2 separate regions of the Homo sapiens genome follow, and region 2 is linked to region 1. The links are contacts of gene promoters, found by promoter capture Hi-C in human tissues and cell types (Jung and others, 2019). All regions are on one chromosome and are shown on one strand. The core of a region is centred on a gene start or on the middle of the fragment in contact, and the rest is flanking DNA. Distances in the headings are between cores, read along the strand shown.

What was found. Contacts are between HindIII fragments. The study calls those that stand out against the background at their distance.
Region 2: a contact is called between a fragment that was not itself captured here and the fragment with the promoter of LRFN1 in region 1, in 1 of the 25 tissues and cell types used here (dorsolateral prefrontal cortex).

The regions. Positions count from the first base shown.
Region 1 is chr19:39,319,554-39,322,345 of GRCh38, reverse strand. It overlaps LRFN1 (leucine rich repeat and fibronectin type III domain containing 1), which reads left to right and starts at 1,483. Exons shown (of 5, transcript NM_020862.2): 1 at 1,483-1,553. RefSeq lists a silencer at 1,635-1,894. The HindIII fragment of the contact is 12,533 bases long and covers 1-2,792 here.
Region 2 is chr19:38,935,435-38,938,460 of GRCh38, reverse strand. LOC124904713 (a long non-coding RNA gene) reads left to right here. Exons shown (of 2, transcript XR_007067253.1): 2 at 1,609-3,026. Among named protein-coding and RNA genes, the nearest start is that of MRPS12, 6.0 kb to the right of the region's middle. The HindIII fragment of the contact is 4,061 bases long and covers 1-3,026 here.

The DNA.
Region 1 (2,792 bases), core at 234-2,733:
CTTGAACCTGGGAGGTGGAGGTTGCAGTGAGCCGAGATCGTGCCACTCTACTCCAGCCTGGGTGACAGAGTGAGACTTTGTCTAAAAAAAAAAAAAAATTAGGAAAGGGGTTTAGAGGAGGACCTCTGTACAGTGGGATCCAAAACGAGAAGGGTTTGAGACCCCAGGAATCTGGGGCACTGCATGAAACAACACAGATTTTTAGGGGAGAAGTTGCTGGGTTTAGGGACCCTGTGAATATCTCAGAAAGAGAAGGAGAGTGGCCTGAGATACTCAGTGGGGTTTGAGGGAAGGGGTGGGGTTCAGCTATGGGACAGGGGATGGGCAAAGGGGTCTGAACTAGGAAGGAGCAAGGCATTCTGGGCTCTATGGAAGTCACAGGGAGGGGGGACTTTCAGGGTCCAAGAGAAAGAACTGGAGCAAGAAGGAGGCAGGGTCCTCAAGGGGGCAGGACTAGTAGGGGGTGGGAAAAAATTGGGGCTAATTGGGGAGTTTTGGAAACCAAAGGATGTCTTGGAGGAGAAGGAGAGAGAAAGGTGTAAGGTCAAAGGGGTGGAAGATGGTTTGGGGTCTAATGGGGTTCATGGGGAAAGTTTAAGGGTCTTCCATAGGGATAAGAGACATTTTAGGGCCCCCTAGAAGTTAGGCATGGTTTGGAGTTCATACTGGGGGTAAGGGAATGGGTTAGGGTCCTTGAGGGTAGAAGGACATGGCTGGGGGTCCCCAAGAAGGAGTGGAATATGATTTGTGGTTCTGGTGGCTGTAGAATGTGGTTTGGGTCCCCAAAGGGAGTCAGGCACCATCTGGGATTTGGCTGACATATGGTCTGAAGTCTCCCCCGATGTTAGGGTATGATTTGGGGTCCGTGAGGGAAGGGGTGTGGTCTGGGGGTCTATCTGAATGTTGGGATATGATTTAGGGTTGCTGGTGGGGTGGTCTGGATCCCCTTGGATGCTGGGATATGATCTGGGATTCTTCTGGGTTTGGGGGCATGGTCTGGGGTTCCTGACAGTGTGTGGGTCATAGTCTGAGGTCAAGCAGGAGAGCAGGGCATGATTTGTGGTCCTGGGTGGCCCTAGAACATCGCCTGGGTTCTCAAAAGAGGTGAGGCCTGATCCGAGGTCCCCCTGGGTATTAGGACGTGATGGGAGGTCTCTGTAGGGAGATCCGGGGTCCCTAGGCCAGTTGGGGCGTGGTCTGGGGGGGTCTCCGGGGAGGCCGGCGGGGCTGGGGGTGGGGCTGGGGAAGGGTCGGGGGCGGGCCCGCGGCGGCTCGGCAGTGGAGAGGGGTCTGCGGCGGGTTCGGGGCGGGGATCCCGGGTGTGCGACCGCCCCGCCCGGCCGCCCCCACCAGTCGGCGCCCCCTCCCCCCTTGCGGCGGCGGTGGCGGCGGGCGGCGCGGAGGGCGGAGCTCGGCTGCGGCTCGGGAGGGAGGGCGGGAGGCGGGAGGGAGGCGGCCCCGCGGCACCGCGCCCCCTCCCCCGGCCCTCCCCCCACCATGGCGCGGAGCGAGGCAGCGGCGGCGGGGCCGGGCCCGGGGCCCCCCCGGGCTGGGTGAGCGCGGCCTGCAGCGGCCCGGGAGCGGCGGGCGGGGGCGCGGGTGTGTGCGCGGGTGTGAGCGTGCGAGCGTGCGAGTGTGTGTCCGTGGCGCTGCGGCGGGCCCGGCGTGCGCCCGCGCGGCCCTATGTGTGCCCGGTGCCGGCGTGTGCGGCGCCCTGCCCGTGTGGCCATCGGGTGTGCGCGGGGTGTCGAGCCCGGCCGGCGTGTCCGGCTGTGCACGCGTGTCCCCCCGAGCGGCCGCCCCTCCGGCTGTGTGTCTGGGCGCTGTCGCGCGCCCATCGGAGGGGCTGTGTGCAGGTGTGTGTGTGCGTGGGTTGTGTGCCCAGGTGTGGGTCCCCCCCAAGCCCATGTGCGTGCGCGACTAGCTGCTCTGGGTGTTTGTGTCCGGGTTGGATGTCCATCCCCGGGTCTGTGGAGCCGGGTGTGCCCGCTCGGGTGTCCATTTGTGTGTGTGTGTGTGTGTGTGTGTGTGTGTGTGTGTCTGCGGGTTGTATGTCTCCGAGGGTGTGTATCTGTGAGTCCACGGCAGGTTGCTGGCTTGGGGGCTGAGGCTCGGCGCCCAGGCCTCGGTGTGGATTTGGGGGAGGGGAGTTCGCCGCTCCCTCGGTCCATGTCAACTGGGGGGTCCTTAGCGGTCCTGGGGGAAGCGGCCATGTCTTCCCCTTCCCGGTGGTTGCGGGGGGGGGATGGGCGGCCAGGAGGTGGACAGATGGAGGGGGGATGAGAGGCCGAGAAATGGACAGATGGGCCCTGAGGTGGGGGTTGGGGGGCGAAGACCCGGCCCTTCCCCACCCACTCCACCCTAATTCCCCCACCGGCCAGACATCTGCAGACGGAGCCAGAGTTACCTCCATCCTGATGGCCAGGCTGGGGAACCTTTGGGGCTGCTGGTGGGAGGATCTCCTTGAAACGGTGATCTAGGACTCAAACCCCCAAATCCTCTTGAGTTTCCACCTGCTGAACTCTGACCTCTGGCCTGGCTTTTGCCCTGGTTTTTTGGGGGTGTGGAGGGCAGGATGCTGAATGTGCTGCAGGGATGTTAGGATTTCTTGGGCCTGGGAAGTAAGTAGGTGGGGTGGTGGGGGGGTGCCTCAGGGCTGGGAGGAATGTGTGTCCAAGACTGTGTGAGTGTGAATCTGGGCCTGTCTACTGACTGTGCTACTGTGGTTCAGTATTTTCTATGCATTTGGAAGTGTGTAAATCACAGGACTGTTGTGTGAGCATGTGTCTGTT
Region 2 (3,026 bases), core at 67-2,566, 380 kb after region 1:
AAAAGTTTTCACAGTGTTACATTATTCATTATATGGATGATATACTTTGTGCTGCCCCCACTCGAGAAGTATTACTCCAATGTTATGATCACTTACAAAATTCGATTTCTTGCGCTGGTTTAATTATAGCTCCTGACAAAATTCAGACTACTACTCCTTACTCCTACTTGGGGACCTTAGTAAATGACACTACCATTGTGCCACAGAAAGCAACCATACATAGGAATCAATTGAAAACATTAAAGGACTTTCAAAAATTACTAGGGGACATTAATTGGATACGACCTGCTCTAGGCATTCCTACCTATGCCATGAGTAATCTATTTTCTATCCTTAGAGGAGATCCTGGTCTCACAAGCCCTCGGTAATTAACAAGAGAAGCTGAGGCAGAGCTGCGGCTAATCGAAAAGCAAGTCCATAAAGCTCAAATAAATAGATTAGATCCAGAGAAGACTCTAGATTTGCTAATTTTTCCAACTCAGCATTCACCTACTGGTGTTATTGTTCAAGAGTGAGATCTTGTAGAGTGGCTTTTTCTTCCACATACTAATTCACGGACTCTAACTCCTTATTTGGATCAAATTGCTACTATGATAGGAAATGGGAGAACTCGGATTGTTAAATTACATGGATATGATCCTGGAAAAATTATTATCCCTCTCACAAAGGCACAAATACAGCAAGCTTTTATAAATAGTCTTACTTGGCAAACCAATTAAGCTGACTTTGTGGGTATTCTCGATAACCATTTTCCTAAACAAAACTGTTTTAATTTTTGAAATTAACTAATTGGATTCTCCCTAAAATAACTAAATTTAAACCAATTGAAGGTGCTGAAAATGTTTTTACAGATGGGTCTAGTAATGGTAAAGCTTCTTATTCTGGCTCAAAAAGTAAAGTTTTTCAGATGCCCTATACTTCAGCTCAAAAAGTGGAGCCTGTAGCTGTAATTGAGGTAGTGACTGCTTTTCATATGCCTATTAATGTGATTTCTGACTCTTCATACGTGATTCATTCCACACAATTAACTGAAAATGCTCAGTTACAATTTCCTGCAGATGAACAACTGATGATTTTATTTACCCAACTGCAAACAGCAGTTAGGAGTAGAATGCACCCTTTTTACATCACTCACATTAGGGCTCATACACCTCTTCCAGGCGTCACCTTTTGCAGTGTTTTGCAGTGATGGGCATTCCAGCTTCTATTAAAACAGATAAAGCCCCAGGCTACACTAGCCGAGCTCTAGCTACATTTTTCTCTATACGGAATATTAAACACATTACTGGTATCCCATATAATTCTCAAGGACAAGCCATAGTGGAAAGAATGAATCTCTCCCTGAAACAGCAGTTGCAAAAGCAAAAAAAAGGGGGGAAAACAAGGACTACGGGACACCCCATATGCAACTGAATCTAGCATTGTTAACTTTAAATTTTTTGAGCCTGCCTAAAGGCCAGATCCTATCAGTAGCTGAACAGCATCTACAGAAACCAGCTGCAAAGACAGAAGCAGAACAACTAGTTTGGTGGAGAGATCCAATAACAAAAAGTTAGGAAATAGGTAAAATAATAACTTGGGGTAGAGGTTATGCTTGTGTTTCTCCAGGACTGACTCAACAGCCGATTTGGATACCATCAAGACACCTGAAACCTTATCATGAGCCAGATGCTGAGGAAGAGATTCCGGGAGGAAACTGAGGACCCCCCCCACCCCCGGTTGCAGCCATGTCGAGACTGACGCTGAGGAAGACCCCAACTGTCACGAGCAACACCTGTCAAACACAGCCACCCACCTGGAGACAGATCAAGAAGCTGTCACAGATGGTGGAAGAAAACCTGAGGAAAGTGGGACAACCAGTCGCAATGAGTAATTTAATGGTAGCTATGATAGCGATGATCACCACTGCCATGAGTATTCCTTCAATAAGGGCTGACACAGAGGACAATTATACTTATTGGGCATATTTATCAATCTTGGCTGGCAATAATGCCTGGATGTAATCACTCTATGACACAGTTATACAAGCTTTCTGATCTCATAATAAATCTGCTCCTATAATTGAGGCATACTGCCCTCAAAAACATATTTGTAAACAGGATTGGACCCAGTTAGCAAAAATGAACGTACTTGTTTAGGAAGATTGCTTTGCAGAACAGGCAGAGGTGCTGCACAACAATTCCTATGGAATCATTATTAATTGGTCACCTATGGGGATGTTTAGCTTGAACTGCACCTCTCAGTCTGCATGCCATGGCCACACTGTGATCAGCTCATCTGAACAAAATGGTCAGATGATAGAAATGGTAAGAAATACAGCAAGAGTTCCTATTATCTGGAACCATGGCAGTATAGTGGCACCTCAGCCTCAAATGATATGGCCTGCTCTAGGAGCTAAACATAAGCATTTGTGGAAACTGTTAATAGCTCTTAATAAAATCAAAATTTGGGAAAGAATAAAAAAGCATCTAGAAGGCCACTCTACAAACTTGTATTTGGATATTGCAAAATTGAAAGAACAAATATTTAAAGTATCCCAGGCACACGTGAACTTAATGCCAGGAACTGGAGTGCTTGAAGGAGCTGCAGACAGATTAGCAGCTAGTAACCCATTCAAATGGATAAAAACACTTGGAGGCTCTGTGATTTCAATGATGATTGTGCTTTTACTCTGTGTTGTTTGTCTTTGTATAGTGTGCAGATGCGGATCCTGACTCCTGTGAGAAGTAGCTCACCGTGACAAAGCTGCCTTTGCTTTTATCACTTTGCAAAACAAAAAAGGGGACATGTTGGGAACAGGCCCCTGAATCTGGCCATAAACTGGCCCCAAAACTGGCCATAAACAAAATCTCTGCAGCACTGTGACATGTTCATGATGGCCATGACCCCCACCCTGAAGGTCGTGGGTTTACTGGAATGAGGGCAAGGAACACCTGGCTCACCCAGGATGGAAAACGGCTTAAAGGGGTTCCTGTACCACAAACAATAGCATGAGCGATCTGTGCCTTAAGGACATGTTCCTGCTG